7 separate regions of the Homo sapiens genome follow, and all the other regions are linked to region 5. Evidence: promoter capture Hi-C in 16 types of primary human blood cells and fetal thymus (Javierre and others, 2016). All regions are on one chromosome and are shown on one strand. Each heading gives the region's core, a stretch centred on a gene start or on the middle of the fragment in contact. The rest is flanking DNA. Distances are from core to core; before and after follow the strand shown. Region 1 has its middle 37 kb from the start of MIR4536-2. Region 2 has its middle 34 kb from the start of FOXR2. Region 3 has its middle 44 kb from the start of USP51. Region 4 holds the start of MAGEH1 (MAGE family member H1). Region 5 holds the start of KLF8 (KLF transcription factor 8). Region 6 holds the start of SPIN2B (spindlin family member 2B). Region 7 overlaps SPIN3 (spindlin family member 3).

What was found. Contacts are between HindIII fragments. The CHiCAGO score rates a contact against its expected background, and 5 or more counts as called.
Region 1: a fragment that was not itself captured here is called in contact with the fragment with the promoter of KLF8 in region 5 in 5 of 17 cell types (erythroblasts, total CD4 T cells, endothelial precursors and 2 more); the score reaches 7.7 in erythroblasts.
Region 2: a fragment that was not itself captured here is called in contact with the fragment with the promoter of KLF8 in region 5 in 1 of 17 cell types (erythroblasts); the score reaches 5.2 in erythroblasts.
Region 3: a contact is called between a fragment that was not itself captured here and the fragment with the promoter of KLF8 in region 5, in 1 of 17 cell types (erythroblasts). The highest score is 5.7, in erythroblasts.
Region 4: the fragment with the promoter of MAGEH1 here is called in contact with the fragment with the promoter of KLF8 in region 5 in 15 of 17 cell types (total B cells, M0 macrophages, megakaryocytes and 12 more); the score reaches 22.5 in total B cells.
Region 6: a fragment that was not itself captured here is called in contact with the fragment with the promoter of KLF8 in region 5 in 2 of 17 cell types (M1 macrophages and M0 macrophages); the score reaches 5.2 in M1 macrophages.
Region 7: a contact is called between a fragment that was not itself captured here and the fragment with the promoter of KLF8 in region 5, in 2 of 17 cell types (M1 macrophages and M2 macrophages). The highest score is 6.6, in M1 macrophages.

The regions. Positions count from the first base shown.
Region 1 is chrX:55,412,858-55,416,238 of GRCh38, reverse strand. No RefSeq gene overlaps it. Among named protein-coding and RNA genes, the nearest start is that of MIR4536-2, 37 kb to the left of the region's middle. The HindIII fragment of the contact is 1,230 bases long and covers 753-1,982 here.
Region 2 is chrX:55,655,562-55,658,968 of GRCh38, reverse strand. It overlaps the pseudogene XAGE-4. Among named protein-coding and RNA genes, the nearest start is that of FOXR2, 34 kb to the right of the region's middle. The HindIII fragment of the contact is 7,881 bases long and covers 1-3,407 here.
Region 3 is chrX:55,532,739-55,535,821 of GRCh38, reverse strand. No RefSeq gene overlaps it. Among named protein-coding and RNA genes, the nearest start is that of USP51, 44 kb to the right of the region's middle. The HindIII fragment of the contact is 240 bases long and covers 1,197-1,436 here.
Region 4 is chrX:55,450,724-55,454,064 of GRCh38, reverse strand. MAGEH1 (MAGE family member H1) reads right to left here and starts at 1,938. Exons shown (of 1, transcript NM_014061.5): 1 at 499-1,938. The coding sequence starts at 1,690. The coding sequence ends at 1,031. It overlaps MIR4536-2 (microRNA 4536-2), which reads right to left and starts at 2,570; the gene lies at 2,483-2,570. MIR4536-1 (microRNA 4536-1) reads left to right here and starts at 2,483; the gene lies at 2,483-2,570. RefSeq lists enhancers at 1,476-1,525, 1,676-1,725. The HindIII fragment of the contact is 1,343 bases long and covers 1,715-3,057 here.
Region 5 is chrX:56,230,817-56,234,217 of GRCh38, reverse strand. It overlaps KLF8 (KLF transcription factor 8), which reads right to left and starts at 1,862. Exons shown (of 6, transcript NM_007250.5): 1 at 877-1,862. The coding sequence starts at 883. The HindIII fragment of the contact is 3,283 bases long and covers 452-3,401 here.
Region 6 is chrX:57,121,433-57,124,426 of GRCh38, reverse strand. SPIN2B (spindlin family member 2B) reads left to right here and starts at 2,879. Exons shown (of 2, transcript NM_001006681.2): 1 at 2,879-2,994. It also overlaps a transcript of FAAH2 not described here. RefSeq lists a silencer at 2,592-2,711. The HindIII fragment of the contact is 426 bases long and covers 1,532-1,957 here.
Region 7 is chrX:56,991,358-56,994,707 of GRCh38, reverse strand. SPIN3 (spindlin family member 3) reads left to right here. Exons shown (of 2, transcript NM_001010862.3): 2 at 1-3,350. The coding sequence ends at 537. Among named protein-coding and RNA genes, the nearest start is that of SPIN3, 2.5 kb to the left of the region's middle. The HindIII fragment of the contact is 1,095 bases long and covers 894-1,988 here.

The DNA of each region.
Region 1 (3,381 bases), core at 118-2,617, 820 kb after region 5:
TTGATTAGTCCCAATGTGAGTACCTGGTTTTTTCAGTTGAAGGTGCTATATTTACTTGCCCCTTTTGTTTCTCTCCGTGAGAGGCATGCACCTTAGCTGCTTCTAGTCAGCCATCTTGTCCCAAATCCTTATTTTTTTAAATCACTTTGTAGATGTTATAGTGTCTTCTAGATTTTACTCTTCCTATTGAGATGTCATCTAAGAGGTTAAATGTAATTCTTTTGTAGATAATTACATATTCTTTGCTGCTTAGAACATATCTTTGTTTTTGGGTTTCTGTAGTTTTATTATAATAAGTCTAGGTGTGAATTTAGTTTTATATATTCTATGTGGGGTTTACTAGACTTCCTGAATCTGAGGATTTATTTCTTTCATAATTTCTGAAATATTCTCAGCCTTTATATTTTTAATATCACCTATTTCTTATTCTTTCTGTTATCTATTTCTGACATTACAATTTGATGAGTGTACAACCTGCATACCATATTCTCCATATCCTTTAATTTCTCTTTCATATTTTTAATTTCTTTATTTCTCTGAATTTCATTCTTGTTAACTTATTCAAACACATATTCCTGTTTACTTCATCTCATTGTAGACATGATCACAATTATATCACAGGCTAAATGTGTTAGGTAGTAGAGAGTGGTAAGTAGAACCCACTCAATCATTATATTCATCATCTTAATCCTTCACAAGTCATCAACCCAAATTGACAGAGATAAACAACTATTTTATAGTATAAATAAGCTTCTTGTGATAATCAGGATATAATTATGCTAAAATATTCACCATATAGCTAAAATTCAATTTAACAAGGTATCCTGTATTTTATCAGGCAAGTTTAATGAGAAGTCAATTTCTACCAAAGAAGCTGAGACAGATATCAAAGATATCTTTGTGATGATGTAAATTAACTTGTTCTTCAGTGCTAACTCTAGTAAACATATAATGTAAATCTAAAGTTAGGACATATGAACTGCCAAAGATTTTTATGCTATCTCTGAATGTGAGAGACATACTAATAAAATTTCCAGGTAATTTTCTACCTTGTGTATGGACAGGAGGAAGAATATTGGATATCAGAATTTTTCTAAATATTCAGGTCATAATTTATATATCACTGGGTATAGGACAATTCCAGTTAGTAAGAAGTTACATAAAGCATTTTTCTCTCTAAACAAAGGATGATTCTCTTTTGGAGACTCATTCTTGGTGTTACAGATGCTTTTTCCCCCCTCTCGTGTGTGTGTGTGTGTGTGTGTGTGTGTGTGTGTGTGTGTGTCCGTGTGTGTGCCTGTGTGTCTGTGTGTGTGTTAAGAACACTAAACATGAGATTATCCCCTTGACACATTTTAAGTGCACAATAGAGTATTGTTAACTATAGGCACAATGTCGTACAGCAGATGTTAAGAATGTATTCATCTTGCGTAACTGATACTATATAACTGGTGGACAGCAACTCCCCATTTTAAGGATACTCACTCTGTTGTCTATTTTTTAAATTTTAGATGTTTTAAGATTACACAATTGTGGCAAATCAGATGCAATTATTATAACCCAAGTGACCCAATGGAGACCCCAAATTACAGTTAGTGGAAAATAAAAATGCTGTTCACATTCATTAGTCTTAATCTCAGAAAGTTAGAATAGTGTTTAGAAATTATAATTTCTTATCTGAAATTATCATATATACAAGTGAGATGGTATTGAAATGGTGCTCATCAGCCAGAGTCATAATCAATTTGAATTATATGTAAAGTGAAACATAATCTTTTTTGGTTTGACTAGCTAAGCACAATTCCAGACAGAGAGGATTCAAAATTATTCAGTTGGCGTTTAACTCTCATTGGGGAAGCCTAAACTGACATCTTTAACTTGATGTAAATATTACCATTTAGGCAATTAATCTCTTGAGAAAATGCTAAATCTCAGCAAAATTTTGAGATATAACAGTTGTCAGATACTTCTGTAACTAAGCTTATTTTAATATTATTGCCAATACTTTGAATTGATTTAAATCATTAATTTGAATTAGTTTGTATCACTCTTCACTGTCTTAGGCTGGATATCTACTAAAGCCATAATTGAAGATTCTTTAAAAACACATGTTGCAAATTAGGACTACATATTGCATAGAAACAAGTAGATTAAATTTATTTGTCAATTTTATGTGCAAAATAAACATACCAAAGTACTTTGGGAATGTACAACTTGACTGTGCTTTTATAGCACTGACTCTAACTCCCTGCCCCAAGTAATTCTTTTATTTGCATGGTTGATAATTTGATCTGATCTTACTATTTCTAGATCTAGTTCTCAACTTTCTTTTCTGTTCCACTGTTCTATATGTCTTTCTTTATATCAGTATCACACTGTCTTGATTGTAGCTTTATAATAAGTCTTGAAATCTGGTAGTTTAAGGCTTTCAAGTTTGTTCTTTTTTTCAAAATTATTTTGTCAGTTAGAGATCCATATAATTTACAAACAAATTTTAGCAGTCTTGTAAACTTCAACAAAATAACCTGCTAATATTTTCACCTGGGTTGTGTTGACAGTGTAGATAAATTTGGGAATAAATGATCTTAACAACATTGAGCCTTCCAGTGAATGTAGTATATTTCTCTACCTACTTAGTTTTTCTTTTATATATCTCACTAATGTTTTATAATTTCTGTGCATAAAATTTAGAATCATCTTGTCAATAGCTACAAAAAAAGCTTCCTAGCAAGAAAACCATATGACTCTCAAATCAATTTAGGTCTTCTTTAATTAGGTCTCTAAACAATGTTGTTTTGTTCTCAGAGTACATATTTTATCAAACTTACCCCAAAGTATTTCTGGTTTTGTGATGCTGTTGTAAATGGTATTTTTATATTATTAACTTTCAGATAGTTGCTGGTATATAGAAATACAATTGAGTTATGCATATTGACCTTGTATTCTGCAACCCTGCTAAACTAATTTTTAGTTCTAGTATCTTTTTTAAATACATACACAATCATGTTGTCTAAAATATGTTAAAAGTAGAAAAATAGTTTTTCTATTTAAAAGAAATCTGTATTCCCTTTTTTACTTGACTTATTACATTAGTTAGCATCTATGGTAAAAATTCAAATGGGAGTTTTGAGAAAAGATTTCCTTGGCTTACTCTCAATCTTGAGGGGAAGCACTGTCTGATGGTACTTATAGGTATTTTGTAGTTGCCCTTTACCAGGAAGAAGTTTGTTCTATTCCTAGTTTGTCGAGAGGTTTTATCATGAACATTTGGATTTTGTATAATGTTGTTTTCTGCAGTAAATGAGATGATCATATAGACTGTACTTTTTAGACTGTTAATATGATGAATGCTACTGATCAGTTTTCAAATATTAAATGAAC
Region 2 (3,407 bases), core at 226-2,725, 570 kb after region 5:
TCCCCTGGGTCTGTTCCCCATGTTTCTCCTTTGCAGTTCAACTGCTCTTCAGTTTAACTGTCTGTCTTCCCCACCACAGTGTGGTAGCCTCCATGGAACATACCACGTGTGGTTCCTTGGTCTTCACATTTCCAGCATCCCAGATATTTCCTGCAACATGGCAGGCACCCATGCATATATAAATGAGAAAAAAGAATGTATAAATAGAGATATTAAAGTAATTTATTTCTGTCACAAAAGGTCTTTCTGAGCCACATCCTCCACTAATGGTGACATGGGACTGTCTGTTCCCAGTGTTTCTGGATGCATGAGAATGGTAGGGCAAGAGAGAGAACAAAGCCTCTTAGTCCCTTTCCTTCTACTACAAACACCTTAGGGATGCGAGCCTGGGGAGAGAGGGAAAACCCCGGGTGGCCTTGCATGTGCCTGACTCAGTGTGCACATCCCTTGCTGCCCAAGTCCCTTGTCCATGTGCCTTGCTGTCTGCCTTCTGTCCCTGCAGAGCTGTGCAAGGAGACATCATGACTTCCTTCTGTGCTGCTGACTAGGAGTCAGCCAGTAAGTCCGAAGATCAGTCTTCCCAGAGTTGAAGTGGGAGAGACTGTGAGGAGGAGCCCGCGGCGCGGTCTATGGCCTCCGACGGGGAGGTCCTTGAGGTTCCTGTCCTTCTCCTAACAGGTGGTGACACAGCCTTGGCCTTGCTGTCGTGGGGGTCCCAGACAGGGGAGGAAGGAGGGCCATAGAGGGGAGGAGGACCTAGTGAACATGGAGTGAGTTTTGAAGGGGGAAACTATTTGTGGTATTTGAGTCCCGGAGGCATATGAAACCGCCCACAGAAGACACATTCCATACTCTTCAGCGGAAACCTGGGAGAAGGCAGAGGACTGCGCGGTGCGGGATGGGGTGGGGCGAGGAGGGGTGCCACAGCCCACCAGGCAGGCACCGACCTCACTGCGCATGTCCACTGGGCGTCTTCCCCTCGGCCCCTTTGCCCATGTGGTGAACGCCAGGGAGCTGTGAAGGCTTGAGGATCGCGTTCCTGCTGTCGGGACTTTTTCTGTCCTGCTGAGACGCAGCCGGTAGGTCCACAGGCCAGTCCTCCCAGGGCTTGAAGTGTGAGTGAGTGTGAGGAGGAGCCAGCGGCCGTCCTGAGTGTGGGGCAGGGTGGTACGTGGCCTCAGAGGCCGAAGGGTCTCAAAGTGCTCGTCCTTCTTCTCGTGAGGTGGCACCGCTGTGGGCCTTGTTGTGGTAGGGTCAGAACGAGGGAAGAAGGTGGACCGAGTAGTTGAGAGGGGTCAGATGAAGATGGGGTGAGTGCTGGGGGTGCTGGGGCAGGTATCTGAGTCCCTGAAACCCTCGACAGAGGACAGATTCCAGACTCCTCCGTGGCGACCCAGGAAGGAGCGGGGTGGGCATTAAGGAAGGGAACTGGGAACACTGCGGGTTGGTGACCATGGCCCTGAGGTCTGTAGAACGCCTGGCAGAGGTGTACAGTGAGGAGGGCCCAGTGCTGTGTGGCAACTTCTCAACTCCACTGTGGAGATTTGAATGGGTGGGGCTCTGCGTTCCAACAAAACTTGATTTTAGGGGGGAAACGGGCCTAGCAAATGGGTGGGTGACAAAAGTCGTGGTCACTGCAGTTTTAATTCTCTGGCTGTATTTTCCTAAATGCCTCCACGGAGGAGAGTTCAGTTGTGAAACCAAACCTCATCGGAAATATCCTATGTCTTTTGCCAGGAGCTATGAGACATTGCTCAGCTAGCTTGACCAACTTAAGTGACTTTGCGAGCATTTGGAAGGCACACATACTTACACTTACCCTGAGACTTAGTTCGAAAGTATTTACAAACTTTTAAAAAATGACAAGTTAACATTTGGTCATGGAAGTGGTCAAATACAGCTGTCCTTTCAAGTGCATTTACCAATTCACAGTATTCTGTTTGCAGTGTGAAATATGATTTGGAGAGTAAGATCAACATATAGGCCTAGACCAAGGAGAAGCGTACCACCTCCTGAGCTGATTGGGCCTATGCTGGTGAGTGTCTTAACCTTTGATGTTTTCTATTAGCAGAAAGTTATTTTTGTAACTTGTTGTTACAAAACTATGTTTTGTAATTGTTGTTGAACCAGTATGGATTCACCAATAAAGGTCTTCCATGCTGATAAAAATGATCATGGCATCTCATGAAGGAAAGACTAATCCAAGAGGATTAAGTTCTTCTGTTGTCTGGATGGATGATCTTGTGTTCCCCAGATTTTGCCCACGATTTCCTTCTCATGCTTATTTGCAAAAGATTACACACATTCATCCCAACATAGATTAAAACAGCTTCCAGAGCCCTTGAGGGCAACTGTCTTAGAGTAACCTCTCTGTGGGAAGAGTAACTTTATGAAGTATAAGTATGTGGAAGAGTGCTGGAGAAATGTCTTTAGACTTATGATCAGAAATATCTATGTATTCTGTATATTTATATTATTGAAATGTATTGATAACAAATTATCTGCACACACACACCCCTGGTTCCAGGAGCCCAGTGATGAGGAACCTCAGCAAGAGGAACCACCAACTGAAAGTCGGGATCCTACACCTGGTGAGGAGAGAGAAGATCAGGGGTGCAGCTGAGATTCAAGGTGCTGGGAAGAGAAAGAAAGAATATCTATGGTTGGGGGGTGGGCAGGAGAGGCCTATATGTGCATCATGCATTATGCCATAAACAGTAACAGGAGGAAAGAAAACATTAGGAAAGGATCTCAAACACTTGCTCAAAGTTGGCTGGAAAAGTGAAGAGTATAGTTTGCAGCTTCATGCCGTCCCTGGATACGATGAATCTTCTCTTTTTCTTCGACGTTTATTTTGCATGCTTGAAAATACAGTCCTTGCTAAATCAGATGAAACTCTTTAATGTGGTGTACAAAATTTCACTAGTTTTATCTTCTTAGAATGTTGTCTGATCTTCTCAGCTGTGGTGTCCACAGTATTGTATGCACCCTTTAATAGCATGTAGAAAGCCAAGTCACCCTACCTTATAACATCCTGAATAAAGCCCATTTGCATAGGGATATTAGCCCCATTTTATAAGTAAGAAAACTGAGGCTCTGAAATGGAGGCTTACCAAGAACACTTGACTCATGGAGAAGGAATTCATATTTCATTCCAAGGTTTGTGTTCTTCCTACCAACTGTGTTAGAAAATGTGAATTATTTTGCTTAAAATGTTCATACTCGAATGTGTCTCTACTGTAAGGTACTTCAGTGAAGCAGGATAGTAACTCCAGAAAAGAGCTCAATGAATGACAGCCACTGTTTCCTTTGCTCTGTATTTTTGACAGTATGTTTGGTAAAAGTTGGATAATTTAGGACATTGGCATACAGGTAGCTATATTAGTATGATTTTAAGGGACTTTTTA
Region 3 (3,083 bases), core at 67-2,566, 700 kb after region 5:
GACTCACCAGTGCATGTGTGGGCACAGACCTGCCGTTACCTTGCTGGAGCGCTTTTGCCAGAGGCCTCCATTGGAGTGTTATTGCTAGTAGACTGGGAACATCTTGGCTCCTTCAGTCCAGCAGATGCTTACTTCCAAATGACTGCATGAGTTCCACAGTACTTGTTCTTAACTTGACTGAAATGGCTGAAATGACAGACATAAAATTAAGAATCTGGATGGCAAGGAAGCTCATTGAGATAAAGGAGAAGGTTGAAATACAATCCAAGAAACACAAGAAAATGGTCCAAGAGTTGAAAGACAACACAGCCAGATTAAGAAAGAAAAAAAAAACCAACTCAAGATGGATTAAACACTTAAATGTAAAACCTAAAACTATAAAACCCTGGAAGATAAATGGTGGGGAGGTGGTATGACCATGCAATGATAGCATAAGAAAATATTTGGTAGTGATACATCTGTCCCATACTCTAATTGTGGTAGTAGTAACATAAATCTATATACGCATTAAAATTTATAGAATTTTACTGTAAAATAAATCAGTTTTACTCTATGAAAATTTAAAAAGGAAAAAGTCTGTGCAATGCCACTAAAACAATACTTAGGGGAAATTTTATAGCATTACATATACATCAATATCAGAAGTAAAGAGTGGTCTCAACATTATGATTTCAGCATCCACCTTAAGAAAATGGAAAAAGAAGAGCAAATTAAACCTAAAGTAGGTAGAAAAAAAAATCACAACAAAAATCAGTGAAATAGAAAGCAGAAAATAGAGAAAAATCAATGAATCGAAAAGTTGGTTTCTTTGAGAAGTCAACAAAATTGATGAATCTCTACGCAGGTGATCAGGAAAGTAAGACAGAAGACAAATTATCAATGTTAAGAAAGAGAGAGATGGCATTATTATAGACTCTAGAGATTTTAATAAGAGAAGGGAATGTTATGAAGACCTTCATGCCAATAAATTACACAACTTACATTAAATGGAAAAAATCCTTGATAGGTACAAACTAACAAAGCTAACTCAAGATGAAATAGATAGCTTAAATAATTCCACATCTAATGAAGAAATTAAATTTATAGTTTAAAACTGTCTCACAAAGGAAACTACAGGCCCAGATGGCTTCACTGTTGAATTCTACCAAATATTTAAGCAAGAAATAATGTCATTCCTAAAAATTCTCCCAAAAGCTTGAAGGAAAATAACTGCTTCCCAACTCATGCTAATCCTAGGTTCAAAAATATTCTAGAACAGGACGAGGATGCCCACTTTCACCACTCTTATTCAATAGCAATCAGGCAAGAGAGAGAAAAAAAGGGCAACCAAATTGAAAAAGAAAAAGCCAGTTATCCCTGTTTGCTGATTATATCTAGAAAACCCTAAAGTCTCCACCAAAACACTCTTAGACTTGATAAATGAATTCAGTAAAGCTTCAGGATATAAAATCCACATACAAAAATCAGTAGCATTTCTATACACAAATAACAGTCAAGCCAAGAACCAAATCAAGAAGACAATTCCATTTACAATAGCCACAAAAAAATACCTAGTGATATATTTAACCATGGAGATGAAAGATCTCTACAAGGAAAACTACAAAACACTAATGAAAGAAATTGTAGATGACACAAACAAAAGGCAAAACATCCTATCCTCATGAATCTGAAGAATTAATATCATTAAAATGGCAAAACTGCCTCAAGCAATTGCTTTAGATTGCTACAGATTAAATGCAATCCCTTTCAAAATATCAATGTCATTTTTCGTAGAACTAAAAAAAAATCCTAAAATTTGCACGGAACCAAAAAAGAGCCCCAATAGCCAGAGTGAGCTTAAGAAAAAAGAACAAAGCTGGAGGCATCACATTACCTGACTCCAAATTATACTACAAGGCTACAGTAAATGAAAAAGCATGATAGTGGTATAAAAATAAACATGTAAATCAATGGAACAGAATAAAGAACCCAGAAATAAAGGCACATATTTAAAGCTAACAGATTTTTTACAAAGCCACAAGAACATATACTGGAGAAAGCACACTGGGTTCAATAAATGGTGCCGGGATAACTGGATTGCCATATGCAGAAGAATGAAACTGGACCCCTATCTGTCACCATATTAAAAAAAATCAACTCAATAATGATTAAAGACTTAAATGTAAAACCCAAAACTATAAAAATACTAGAAGAAGGCCTAGGGAAAACTCTCCTGGACTTTGATATAGGCAAAGAATTTATGCCTAATATCTCAAAAGCATAGGCAACAAAACCAAAAACAGACAAATGGGATTTAGTTACACTGAAAAGCTTCTGCACAGTAAAAGAAGTAATCAACAGGGTGAACAGAGACAACCTGTAGAATGAGAGAAAATATTAGCAAACTATGCATCTGACAGGAGTCTAATATTCAGAATTTACAAGGAACTACAATAACTAAAAATAAATAAATAAATAAATAATAATTCTATTAAAAAAGTGGGCTGGCCGGGCACATACGCCAGTAATCCCAGCACTTTGGGAGGCCGAGGCAGGAGGATTCCCTGAGGTCAGGAGTTCAAGACCAGCCTGGCTAACATGGCAAAACTCCATCTCTACTAAAAGTACAAAAATTAGCCAGGCGCGGTGGCAGGTGCCTGTAATTTCAGCTACTCAGGAGGCTGAGGCAGGAGAATCACTTGAACTCGGGAGGCAGAGGTTGTAGTGAGCGGAGATCATACCACTGCACTCCAGCCTGGGTGACAAGAGCAAGACTCTGTCAAAAAATAAAAAATAAAAAAAAAGGCTAAGGACATGATGAATAGTTATTTTTTAGTAGAAGACAGAAATGGCCAACAAGCATAGGAAAAATGGTCAACATCACTAATAATCAGAGAAATTAGAATTAAAACTGCTGTGAGATATCATCTTACACCAATCAGAATCGCTATTGTTAGAAAGACAAAAAATAACAGATGTTGGAGAGGATGTGGAGAAAAGGAAATGCTTATACGTTGTTGGTGAGAATGTAGAACCTCTATGGAAAACAATATGGATATTTCTCAAAGAAGCAAAAGTAAAACAACCAATCTCAGTACTGGGTA
Region 4 (3,341 bases), core at 689-3,188, 780 kb after region 5:
TCTGAAGTACCCCATGACAACCTTTTCCCCTGCAACCACCCCTTCTCTCTGCCCTCCTCCTCTCAAGATGATTTTTGTGTATTTTCTACTTCCGTGGCAGGCACCCTGTGATGTCCTCTTCTTTTTGCCAGTGCTCCCTCCCCTATGCTGGGTGGAGTATCCAATCAAATATCTAATACATAATATTTTCATCATATATTCTGATCGTATATTTCAGTCCCCCCCAAACTTATTTAAGTGTCTCTTGAATTTTCACACATCCTATGGTGCTCCCTTCCCCGGCCCACTCCCCAAGACAGGTCACATAAGGTTTTTTACATTTTCATGGCACTTCAGGCTCGTTCTCTATCCCAGCATTTACTGCACTGCCAGTTTACCTATTTTTCTTTCCCACATAATCTAGAACATTCTTTGGACCTGGAGGATGTGTACTAGGGAGTATCCCTAGAATCTAGACTGGTGCCTCACATAACAGGTGGTCAGAAAATGCGCAAGATGTACTATTCGTTAGGCTTTTATTTTTCTCTATGTTCTGCAGTAACTAAGGAAAATCATGGTAAATGTCAATCTTCACACAACAGCAGACACAAAGGGTTTCAGAAACGTCAGATATGAAGAAATCCTCCATCCTTCTTCAACATTTTACTGGGTATTTCAACTTCAAAAGAACAGCTTATTTCTATAAGTGCTGTACAAGATCATAGATTATGATGGAACGACTTCATTTTAGAACGTTAGCAAAACTGTTATACTAAATGTCAATGACAGGAAACAAAGAAAAAAATTTGTTCAATTATATTTTTAAACATATTGTTATTCTCAACAAACGGAATTTTAAAACGAATACAATTTTCCATTATCAAAAGCAAACACTCTATTTCGCAGTTGAACAATGATCACTGATCACAAATATCAAATACAGTGTCCCCCGCCCCCAATCGACATCATTTTCAACTTAGGACCCTGGCATCTACTCCTTGGGGTACCTGTGACTCTCTTTTACACCCCCAAGGGTCTGCCTCAGATCTACTTAAGGGGCGGAATAACCCCTAGCACCTGAATTGAGGATAGCCTCAACCTCTGCATCATCGTCCGAATCCCAGTCATAATTACAAGGCCAGTCTTTAGAGCATCGGTTACGAACCCTTGCCACAAAATGCATGACTTTCAGTTTGCTCGATTCCACGTGTGCTCGGGGCCCCCAGAAGAACTCATACTCCACCGGACTGCTACGGGGCACCGGTTTATAAATCAGGTACCCTCTGCGCACAAACTCTTCTGTGACGATCTTCTTCGGATCTCCAAAGATGCTGTGCTGACGTCCAGGCTGCATTCCTAACTTCCCCAGCACTTTCCAGACCAGAGCTTCCTTGGCGCTGTTGCCCATGATGAAGATGAGCGCTAATATAGACATCAGGAGACTTTTCTTGGTGCCCTGAAAATTGCTCCGGGGCACTGAAGGCTTTTGTGCTTGGGCAGTGCTCGAGGCTTCTTCAGGGGTGGTAGAGGCCTCCTCTGGAGTGCTCGGGTCTTCCTCGGGGCCGCTCAGGTCGTCTTCGGGGGTGCTCGCTACCACAGAGGCGGCCATAGGGGTCTCGGAGGCCTCTGAGGCCTGGATTTTGCGATTGTTGCGGTTCTCTTCTGCGGCTCTCGCATTACGGCGGCGCCGACTCTTTCGTCCCCGAGGCATGTCTCCTGCTAGAGGCTCAAAGCTTACAGCAGTCCTAGGGAAGGATGCTTGTAGCCTCTTCAGGAAGCAACAGCTTTATACCGTAAGAAGCTGCTGCCGCTGAAGCTACCAATGTCAATAGAGTCTTTGTAGCAATAAACAAGCCGTTCTCAGCTACAAAGGGTAGTTCCCACGCCAGCTGACTTGCGCGAGCAGCCGCCGCCAGCACTTGCCGCAGCTGCAAGCCCGCGAGAAAGCTCAGCAAAATTGGCCCCGCCTCTCCTGCCACGCACACTCCTAGCACCAAAGAGGAAGTAGGCTGGTCCTCCACAGGGACTTCCGCTAGCAGATAGGAAAAGGGGCAGGCAGCGACAGGGGTGGGACAAGGGCAGAAATGACAGCTAGAGATTGGAGGGGCCTGGAGTTTGCAGAAGAGAAAAAAATAGCTTAAAGTTTCTGTATTTTCAGCCTACTACAAACATTCCAAGATTGGCTCGACGGTCTAGGGAAGGAGTGCGTCGGCTCCATTCCCACTGACGACGGGCTGTGTGTGTGTTGGGGGTTGGGAGGCCAGGGGTGGCGGGAGGGTGTATTCTTGGAAGGAGTCAGCTGTCTCCAGCCTTCCTTTCCTGTCTTGGCTTACACAGCGCGTTCATTCACTCGCCCTGTTTTCAGAAGGCATTTGTGTGTATACTAATCAATTTGTGGTCCCATGTAGGACCCGGATAATATTGTTATGGCAGATGTGCTGGATGATGTGAGGAGATGGGACTGCAGAAACAAGCAGGGTGAAAGAGGTGCAGAGCCTTTAAAATGTGGTAGATATATGCACGATATATATACTGCCCTGCTTTTATACATACATACATACATACCTATATCGTGCATATATCTACCACATTATGTTTATATACAGTGCATATATCTACCACACATATATGTATGTATGTATGTATGAAAGCAGGGCAGTGACAGGATCAGAGGAATTGCATTTGTGCAGCCTCTCAGAAAAGCAAACTGTTTCCTGGCAGACCACATAGGAAGCAATTGGAATAAGAAGCACTGGGAACTAAAGTATGCCTTAAGGCTGTTGCCATGGGGATGGAGAGGCAGAAAGACATTTTAAAGGTGACCGTTGAAGGGCTTTGCAGACAGAATGGATGAAGTGGGGAATGTGGAGGGGATGATGGAGTTCAGATTGGCTCCAAGGTTTCTAGGCTCCAGTCTTCCTGGACTCCTGATTTATTTTGCTTCTTTCAGAGCATACTCTGAACTTTATCCACTGCTTGCTTTTGCTCACTGTTTGCTCTGCCTGACCTGTCTTCTCAGCCTTCTCCAACTATCTAAATTCCATTTGACTGCTCACAGACCTGTTTCTCCCTGAAGCTTGTCTTGATCTGCCCAAAAGGGTAATGAGTCCATTTTTACTCCATTGAGGAAAGCCCTATAACTAGCACTCTATATCTTTCTTATGTCATTCAAGGTATTAGTTTAAGCAAGTCACTTCTCTCTAAGCCTGTTTTCCCATCTATAAAGTGGGGCTAAAGTACAGCCCTCATAGGGTTGTGAGAATTAAATGAGATAAAAAATGAAAAGCATTTATTACATGGTAAGCACAGATTTTGCCTCTCAAGGTTTTCCAAGCGGTGTGTGAGTGTGGCATTTAATAAAT
Region 5 (3,401 bases), core at 613-3,112:
CAATTATTACCACACTGGGTGACAGGTGCTTAATAAATGCGTTTCTTCACGATGAATATAATACCAAAAGAAATAAGACATGGTGCCTTTGGCCACCTGTTTGGATGTGATTTATTTTTTCCCAAATTCTTAGGGTTAAAAAAAAAAGCCCACAAAAAGACAGCTCCGCCAAGTGGCTAAACAAATGGATTCACTTCAGCAATCACAGCAACTCGGCCCAGTCAGTCTTCCACCTACACAGACGAACCAACTGCCTTGGCCACGTCTTAAAGGGCCGGAGCAGAGCCTAGGCTCTGGCTTCCTTCTCCAACCAAGCTCAGCCCCTCCTTAAAGAGCTGGCACGCCCAAAGCAGCTCCTCCCCCGCAGCTGCTTCCAGGCCTCACTCTGTGCCTCCAATAGCCTAACTTTGCACCTTAAACCACTGTCCCCTCCTCCTTCTTTTCAGAAGCTTCTCTAGGTACCCGCTATGGCTTCAGGGGGTTACCTGGGAGCTTTGGCCTTGTGAATCCTGTTCTCTCTGGTTGTGACTTTGGCTGTGTGGGGTTAAGTCAAAGACAATCCTTACCGCTTAAGGAGTATTGGGAGTGCCGAGCCAGGGGAGACTAGACTAGACAAATCCATCCATTCTTGCCCCCTTTCACTTCTTCCACCAAGCTCTCTCCTCTCCTTCTTGGCCTTTCTTTGCCCAGCCCTTTAGCAAAGTCATTTTCCCTTGAGTTTCATTTGATTCCACATAGTGTTCTTAACCTTCCGCTCCCGCCCCCACTGCTGAAACCCCAAGTGGGGTGTGTGGGGGGAGCAGGGGGACTGGGAGGGGGATAGAATCTAGACGAAAGAGGTGGGAGTGGGTGGGTATTAGTCCCAGAGTCACTTACCGACCATGTCACTAGCTGAGGACTCCTGAAGTGTCCAGAACTCATGCCGTCCTCCGGGAGGCTCATACTCCTGAGCTGATCGCAAGAGAGCTGTTCCCCTCACACCCGCCCCATTCTGACATAGCGCAGGGCGACGCGTTCTCGTCTTCTCGTTCTTGGGCCCCCACTCCCCTATTTCTCCGGGCTGGAAAATGAGGAGGGGGTCGAAAGGGGAGGGAGTCGATTCAGACCCAGCTGGGCCACTCTCGGAACAAGGGAAACAAAGCTCTCAAGCATCCAACCCAAAAATCAGGGGCCGGCAGAGTAGACTTCCTAAAAAGAATCCTCCCCCCTGCAGCTTTTCCTTGGACAAAAATAAAGTGGGTTCGCTGGGCCGAAGTGGCCAGAGCTTAAGGTCCTCCGTTCCCCTTTTACCTCTACCAATTCAGTTCCGGCCAAGCCCGCTCTCCACCCATCCTCTGAACTCCACACACCCTTTAAAAGGAGAGGGCCGGGGGTGGGGGCTATGAAAACCAACCCAACCCCCAAAGCGCTACTTGAACATAAAGTTGAGGCGGAGAAGAAATCCTTCAAGACAGGAACCCACGAGGAGATACCACAAGAGGATCCCTTCACCGCCGCCGTTGCCGCCGCACACCCCAGCGCCTTCCTAAAAAGAAAGAAGGGAGGAAAAAAATGCCGACGATTGGTAGAATCATAGAGAAGAACACCAGCCCCAGGGCAGGGGCTTCAGCGAAAAATGGCAGCAACTCGTGCGGGTCCTCTGGGGCGGGGTTTCTTGGAGGCACCTAGCTGCCCCACGGGGTACCTCGCGCCCCACGCGAGTCAGAACCTAAAGTGCTCTCTGGGCAACCTGAGTGGGTAGAGTGATTCCGTCTTTCTCTGGCCCTGCTAGGCCCAAAGGAGAGGTGTGACTATCGTGAGGACTCCACCTAGGGTGGAGTTCCTTAAAAAGGACAGGCGGCCGCTAGAGGAGAGTGCAAAGTGGGAGGAGGTGGAGAAGGGTGGGGCTGAGAAGGAGGAGGGAGGAAGGAGGGGGTGGGGCGGGGCCCTGGGCCGACAGAGCTGGCCTCGCCTCCGGCGGCCGCCTCCCTCAGCCTCCAGCAGCGGCAGGTATAATTCCAATCAATTTCACTTCCTTATCTGTCCCAAAATTAAGGCTTGCAAGCACACTGCTTGATTACCTATTTACTCCGGTTATGCTAATTCTCCAGGGGAGGGTGGTGAAACGGGTACTGGGATTGGGGCTGGGGGCTGTCTAAGAGGGAAAGGAGAAAACAAAAAAGCTGACAACTGGAAGCGATATTTATCCTCCTACCTCTCCATGGTAACACGAACAAGGACAGCGAGGTCACAGTGTCTTCTCAGGGAGGAAGCTAAAAGGAACGGAGATTGGAGCTTGGTGCATTTTCTAGCAAGAGATAAGCCAAGGAGGTGAGGGCGAAGGAGTAGGTGGGGAAGAAGAAGGAGTTGAAGATGATCTGTGAATACAGCGTGGCCCAGCAGGGAGACTTAAGAAAGGCTTTCTCAGTCTCCCAGATACCAGACCTCTAAGAATAGAGTTCTCAACCCCCTGAGACCGCCTCTCAGCCAGGCATTGGCGAAGATCCCCGTAAAGCTGAATCCACAGGATAGGAGCCATGTTTCCAGGATTTCTTTACGCTTGCCTGAAAGTCTCTCTCTAGCTCATTTTAATGGGAGGCCAGGAAGTCACAAGCAACCACAGCCCATTTTCAGTGCCTCTTCCCTACCACAATTCTTTTAAAGAGGAGGAAAAAGAAGAGAGACAAGAAACAAAGCAGAGGGAGGAAGAGCAAAGAGACAGGAGAAATAATAATATCTGCCATGTATTCAGCACCTAATATGGGCAAGTCCCTGAGCCAGGTGCTTTTACATTCAACATTTCCCCATTTAGTCCCAATAACAACCCTGGGAACTAGGTACTGTTATATTCTCTGTGCCCTTTATTTAAAAAAATAAGGAAACGGAAGGCCTCAGCCCAGTACTTTCGAACACATAGGTCTACTTACTTAGTTGATATTTCTGCCTGAATGTCTTCTGTGCATCTCATCTACCTTCCTTTCCCCAAAACACTCTGTTCTTCCTCCTGTAGTTCACCAACTACCTGAATGGCACCACCATACATCCAAGGCAGCACCCTGGAACTCATCCTTTAACCTGCTGTGATCTGGCCTTTGTCTGCCTCTCAAGCAGCAGAGATTTTGCTGTTCTCCTGGGCTTTACCTGGATTACAAATCCCTGGGAATTCCAAGCTGTTTCCAATCTCTATGCCTTGGGTTGCTTTACTTTCTCTGACTGAAATAGACTAAGCTCTCTGTCCACCTTTTTTTTTCTTGCATGTCCTTCCAATGAATCTGTCCACTTTCTTGAAAGGACTAACTCAAGGTCATCTCCCCTCCTTACTTAATTTCTTCAGGCAAAACTGACCATTGCTTCCTCTGTGCCCTTCTCTACCTCGGGGCACATATTTGTTGGTATAATTGCCTCCCCCTACTAAACTATAA
Region 6 (2,994 bases), core at 495-2,994, 890 kb before region 5:
CTTCAAACTATACTACAAGGCTACACTAACCAAAACAGCATGGTACTGGTACCAAAACAGAGATATAGACCAATGGAACAGAACAGAGCCCTCAGAAATAACACCACACATCTACAACTATCTGATCTTTGACAAACCTGACAAAAACAAGAAATGGGGAAAGGATTCCCTATTTAATAAACGGTGCTGGGAAAACTGGCTAGCCATATGTAGAAAGCTGAAACTGGATCCCTTCCTTACACCTTATACAAAAATTAATTCAAGATGGATTAAAGACTTAAACGTTAGACCTAAAACCATAAAAACCCTAGAAGAAAACCTAGGCAATATCATTCAGGACATAGGCATGGGAAAGGACTTCATGTCTAAAACACCAAAAGCAATGGCAACAAAAGCCAAAATTGACAAATGGGATCTAATTAAACTAAAGAGCTTCTGCACAGCAAAAGAAACTACCATCAGAGTGAACAGGCAACCTACAGAATGGGAGAAAGTTTTTGCAATCTACTCACCTGACAAAGGGCTAATATCCAGAATCTACAATGAACTCAAACAAATTTACAAGAAAAAAACAAACAACCCCATCAAAAAGTGGGCAAAGGATATGAACAGACACTTCTCAAAAGAAGACATTTATGCAGCCAACAGACACATGAATAAATGCTCTTCATCACTGGCCATCAGAGAAATGCAAATCAAAACCACAATGAGATACCATCTCACACCTGTTAGAATGGCGATCATTAAAAAGTAAGGAAACAACAGGTGCTGGAGAGGATGTAGAGAAATAGGAACACTTTTACACTGTTGGTGGGACTGTAAACTAGTTGAACCATTGTGGAAGTCAGCGTGGCGATTCCTCAGGGTTCTAGAATTAGAAATACCATTTGACCGAGCCATCCCATTACTGGGTATATACCCAAAGGATTATAAGTCATGCTGCTATAAAGACACATGCACACATACGTTTATTGCGGCACTATTCAAAATAGCAAAGACTTGGAACCAACCCAAATGTCCAACAATGATAGACTGGATTAAGAAAATGTGGCACATATACACCATGGAATACTATGCAGCCATAAAAAATGATGAGTCCGTGTCCTTTGTAGGGACATGGATGAAGCTGGAAACCATCATTCTCAGCAAACTATCGCAAGGACAAAAAACCAAACACCGCATGTTCTCACTCATAGGTGGGAATTGAACAATGAGAACACATGGACACAGGAAGGGGAACATCACACAATGGGGCCTCTTGTGAGGTGGGGGTAGGGGAGAGGGATAGCATTAGGAGATATACCTAATGTAAATGAGGAGTTAATGGGTGCAGCACACCAACATGGCACACGTATACACATGTAACTAACCTGCACATTGTGCACATGTACCCTAGAACTTAAAATATAATTTAAAAAAATAAAAATGAAAATAAAATAAAAAGCCCTCACTGAAACTATGACATATCTGCAAATTGCTTTCCATAAAAATTGTATAAACTTTCACTTGCATCAGCACTAGATATGAAGCTTTTTCATGATCAATGACATTAAGTAATATTTTAATGTTCTTTCATACTTTGACTGTTGAATCGAGATTATTATTACTTCTATTTTTCCTTGTAGATGTTATTTTATTAAGTGTAGTTGTTCTGTTAACATCCGACTCATCCCCTCATTCAAATACCATAAGTATCTGAATAAGAAAGATACCATTAAGCATTGTTTTGTTTACAGAGTTTTTGGTTGGTTCATTTGCTTTCTGTTCAATTTTATTTTGCTGCTTTTTACCTTTTAATAAATCAAATATTGATACTGGTACAACATTAGTATACAACCTTTCTCAAAATATTTAAATAATTATTTCAACATTCCTTAAAGAATACCCAACGTTTCTCCACTGATTTATAAAACTATAACTTTAATTATTTCTTATAAAGTTATTTTTTTGCAAAGCTTTCTATTCCGATACATAGATCTGATTACTGGTTATTGTGGAAATATTATGTCAAATGCCCAGTACTGGGAGAAAAGCCAAATTATAAATCACTTTAAAATTGAGTTTTACGGACCAAGTGCAAGATATGTAACAGGTGCTCAATAAATATTTGTTGAATGAAAAAATCGATTAGAAAACATCTAATTTCCTGGAAAAATTAATAGACATGAATTGCAGATAAAAAACAAATCCCAGTTTTGCAAAAGTTTAGGAAAAAGGAAAAAAAACTATGAGCATTAATATTTTGCTGTGAGGCCCTCAAAAATGGGAGATGGGACTGCAGTTGATGATTTTCCTCTTAATATTAATTTCCTAAAATGTAGATAGTGTTCACGTTGTACATGCAATTATCTTGCAATAAAGAAAAGGAAAAAAAAATCCCTCGAAAACAAAAACAAAAATGCCAGGAAATATCAGTCAGCAAAAATTAGGTAGAGACTGGGTCAAAATGGCAGACTTACCATAGTGAATTTCTCTGTTCCAACTCCAAATCCTTTCAAAAAGAGGAAAGACATATTTACGTGTAAAGAATAAATCCATAAGGGCATGGGACGGTGCAGGGGCAGGGGTGGGCGCGGGGGTGGGCGCGGGGCGGCAGCAAGGCGAATTCCAAGAAGATGGAAAGCAGGGCAGGCAGACTAAGAAGGTGGAGGTGGGAACCAAGTGGCCCTGAAACGGGTGAGGAAGGGGCCACAGGGTTCCGAGGACGACTGTGGCACGAACTACTCCGGATTTGGAAAGAGGCGGAGTCAGAGCCCATAGCTCCGCCGGGGCTACAGGCTGTGTGGTGGGCGTGGGAGCCTGGTGGAGAGGAGAGCCGGGTGTTTGACAGGAAGAGGAGGCCTCTCTCTGGGCAGGAAGCTGCGCTACGGAAAGAGGGAGGAGACTGCCGCGGCGACAGCAGGGACTGGTGGAATCCCGATGTGGCTGAGGGGCCGCCACCGCCAGCAGGGAGGCGGAGGGCTAGCGAGCCAAGCGGTGGGGACGCCGCTGCCT
Region 7 (3,350 bases), core at 192-2,691, 760 kb before region 5:
TCTCTGTATCTTATCAAATATGATGGATTTGACTGTGTTTATGGATTGGAACTTCACAGAGATGAAAGAGTGTCATCACTTGAAGTCCTTCCTAATAGAGTTGCATCATCTAGAATCAGTGATACACACTTGGCAGAAATAATGGTTGGCAAAGCAGTGGAACATATTTTTGAGACAGAGGAAGGTTCCAAAAATGAATGGAGGGGGATGGTCTTAGCTCAGGCACCTGTCATGAACACATGGTTTTACATTACCTATGAGAAAGATCCTGTATTATATATGTACCAGCTCTTAGATGATTATAAAGATGGTGACCTCCGCATCCTTCAAGATTCCAATGATTCTCCTCTGGCAGAGAGGGAGCCAGGAGAAGTCATAGACAGCCTGGTAGGCAAACAGGTGGAATACGCCAAAGACGATGGCTCCAAGAGAACTGGCATGGTCATTCATCAGGTAGAAGCAAAACCCTCTGTGTACTTCATCAAATTTGATGATGATTTCCATATCTATGTCTACGATTTGGTAAAAACATCTTAGAGGTCATCTTGAAATTTGCCAAATATATGAGACTCTAAATCTGTAGACACAGAAAGTCTTGATTGCTTTCCAGTTTGTAAGAACCATCTTCTCCCTTTTTGCACGTTTTGCTTGGCAAAAAAATTGGAACTTCTGCCCTCTCATACGTTTTTGGAAGAAACCTTTTGCCCATCTGTCCAACCTTTTCACTGGTTCCTCTCCGCAATTTAACTGATTAGTGAGAAGGGTAAAGTCTGACATCCATTGGCTCATACTTTTTTTTATCTTGGGTGGTGTTAATAGATTAAAGGTAGCTGAACACCTCTCACCTCACTCTTTTTGGCACTTGGACTCTACACTCATTGAGGTGTGAAGCTTGCTGAGATATCCCATGTGACTGGCTGGGTAAGTGTCTTTGCAATCTCAAATCTCCCCCAAGTGGCTTCAAAAATCTAACTTGGGAAAGAGTGGGAAGCCCATTTTGGTCTCTTGTTCAAGTTGCATTCTCAGTTCTAACTGTACTAAAAGTAAGGCTAATAATTTTGCTCTCTTTCCGGTTCTTTCACCTATTGCTCAACTGTTTTAGAATTAAGAAGGTAATTACTTTGCATTTTAGTACCTAACCATAGGCTGAGAAACCTTGCAAAACTGATAAGAAGACAAGCATTTGGGGACCAAACTCCAAGTGGAGAGATCAAGATTTCTGGTGGAGCTTAAGTGAAAGGTTTTAGTCATCAGTGGCATTAGGGTCTCTCTTGTCTCCAATAGCTCTGGCTGGTATCTGCAGACATGGAGTAGGTTTTAACTGATAGAAGCTGTGCAGGCAGACTTTAGCACAAATGGTCTTTGCCAGCCCAGAGGAGCATTAAGCCAGGCTCTAGCTAGAGCCCTCAGTCACAGGCAAAGGCTGGGTTTGGCTGGGTTTGGACAGATCTGTCCAGAACCTCAAAATGAAAGAGGAGAAACCTAGAATCAAACTGAGATACAGATTTCTTTGCTGTGCTAAGAGAGACTCAAGTTTTAGATTTGATTCTTAGGAGACTGAATTCAGAGTCCCAGCATGTGAGGTGGGCAAGGCACTTGTGAGAACCAAGAATGGCTGAAAGCAGGCTATACTTCCTTGCAGGGACTGGTGGGCTCATCTATTATGGTATCCCAGCAGGACTTGGAACACAGTCAGTGGTAGGTAATCTGTAGGCTTAATGATGTTTTAAGTGCTGGCATTGGTAGATAGAAATCTAATAGATTTTTGTTAGTGTTTGGATTTTTAACTATCCTGTTTCTTGGCTGGCCCTAAGAAACTTATATGCAGATAAGGGTGAGTTCTACTGTGGCAGAAAAGTAAACAATGGAAGGGCCTTTGAGCTTTCCATTATTAAAGAGCCATTGGCGGAGGTTAACCAAAGCCTAGGAAAGAAAAGTTGAAGTACAAGCATGGTTTTTGAGAGAAGCACCTGGCCAAAACCAAAGCTTTCTCATTGAGGTTCTCACAGAAGCTCCATTAGCAGTAACAGCCTAATAAGGCCATGGAGTTCTGCACATTTGGGGCTGGGACTCAAGGCAGTACAATCATATTGGGACTGTACTGCAAGATATCTTCCAAATTAGTTTAAGTTCACAGGTCATGGAGTCCAGACTACCGGCACAGATTGGCATCCTGCTGAGGATGAAACAAAGAAGATGTTCTCTTTTCTCCTATGTTTTATCTGTCTACTTTTGCTTTTTGATGCCACTAAGTCTCTACTATGATGTTTGACTGACAACAGCAATGTGGGTCTGTATTGCCCTATGTTCTAAGTCCTGGGGTCATATATTTGCTTAAAAAAACTGTTCTAGTGGCTGGGGACTAGTGTGCTTTCTAATTTTTTTGATGTGAGGTTGATATTGTGATAATCTTATGTCTTCTTGACCCTTTGGACTCTTTAATATGTATGACATGCAATTGTGGGGTTAGATTAATTCAACTCCTGAGGTCCTGAAGGAACTTCACCCAGTCAAGAGGAAGACAGCCAAGGCTGCAGCTGCTGAAGGAACCCCATATCTGGGCAGACATCTTTGTGAGATCTATATGGCTGAAATGAGAAAAACGAGAAATTGGGAAAGGCAGAATTTTGGACTTTAATTATTTTGGACTTTGAATTAGAAATTTAATTTTGGGCAGTCCTTTTTCCCTTGGAGTTTAATAGTTGATGGGGTGGGGGTGAGGTCATATAGTTCAAACTAAGGCATTTTTATTATGTTGTTGATATTGTATTATTTGGAGTATTTTAATGCTATCTTTGGGAGTCATTGTATAATTGTTGTCAGCTATGTCAGGAAATATGGCTGGACATAATTGTAAATTAGGGCTGCAATTGTGATCAAATTTTCAGTCTAGGGTGTAATGTAGCCTTAGAGTTAATTTAATTACTGTTCTATTTTGACTTATTTCAGAGCCTCTTGGGGGCAAAAACAACTGCTCACCAATCTTACATTGATGGGAGCAGAACTTTTCTAAGATACTGTTGGTCTCCCTGGAAGGGGACAGCCACAGCCCTGTTTGTTGACCAGAGTCTTGAGCATTAACCATTGTGGCTTAAGAGAATGAAAATGTACAAGGGTATGATGGGATCTATCCTCTTCCTCTCTCCATGCTCCTGACTCAAGAAAAGGAAAAGACTTGCATCTCTCAAAAATGTTTGGAAGAAAGTTCTACCCATCTTCTCTTACACTCATTCAATCTTATGCTTGGGAGGAGGAATAACTTGATGAGATTGAGAAAATGGTTATAATGGATAGGCAGCTTAGGCCACTCTTGGATCTTGAGTTCGTTCCACACAGCAAGATGTGGGAAA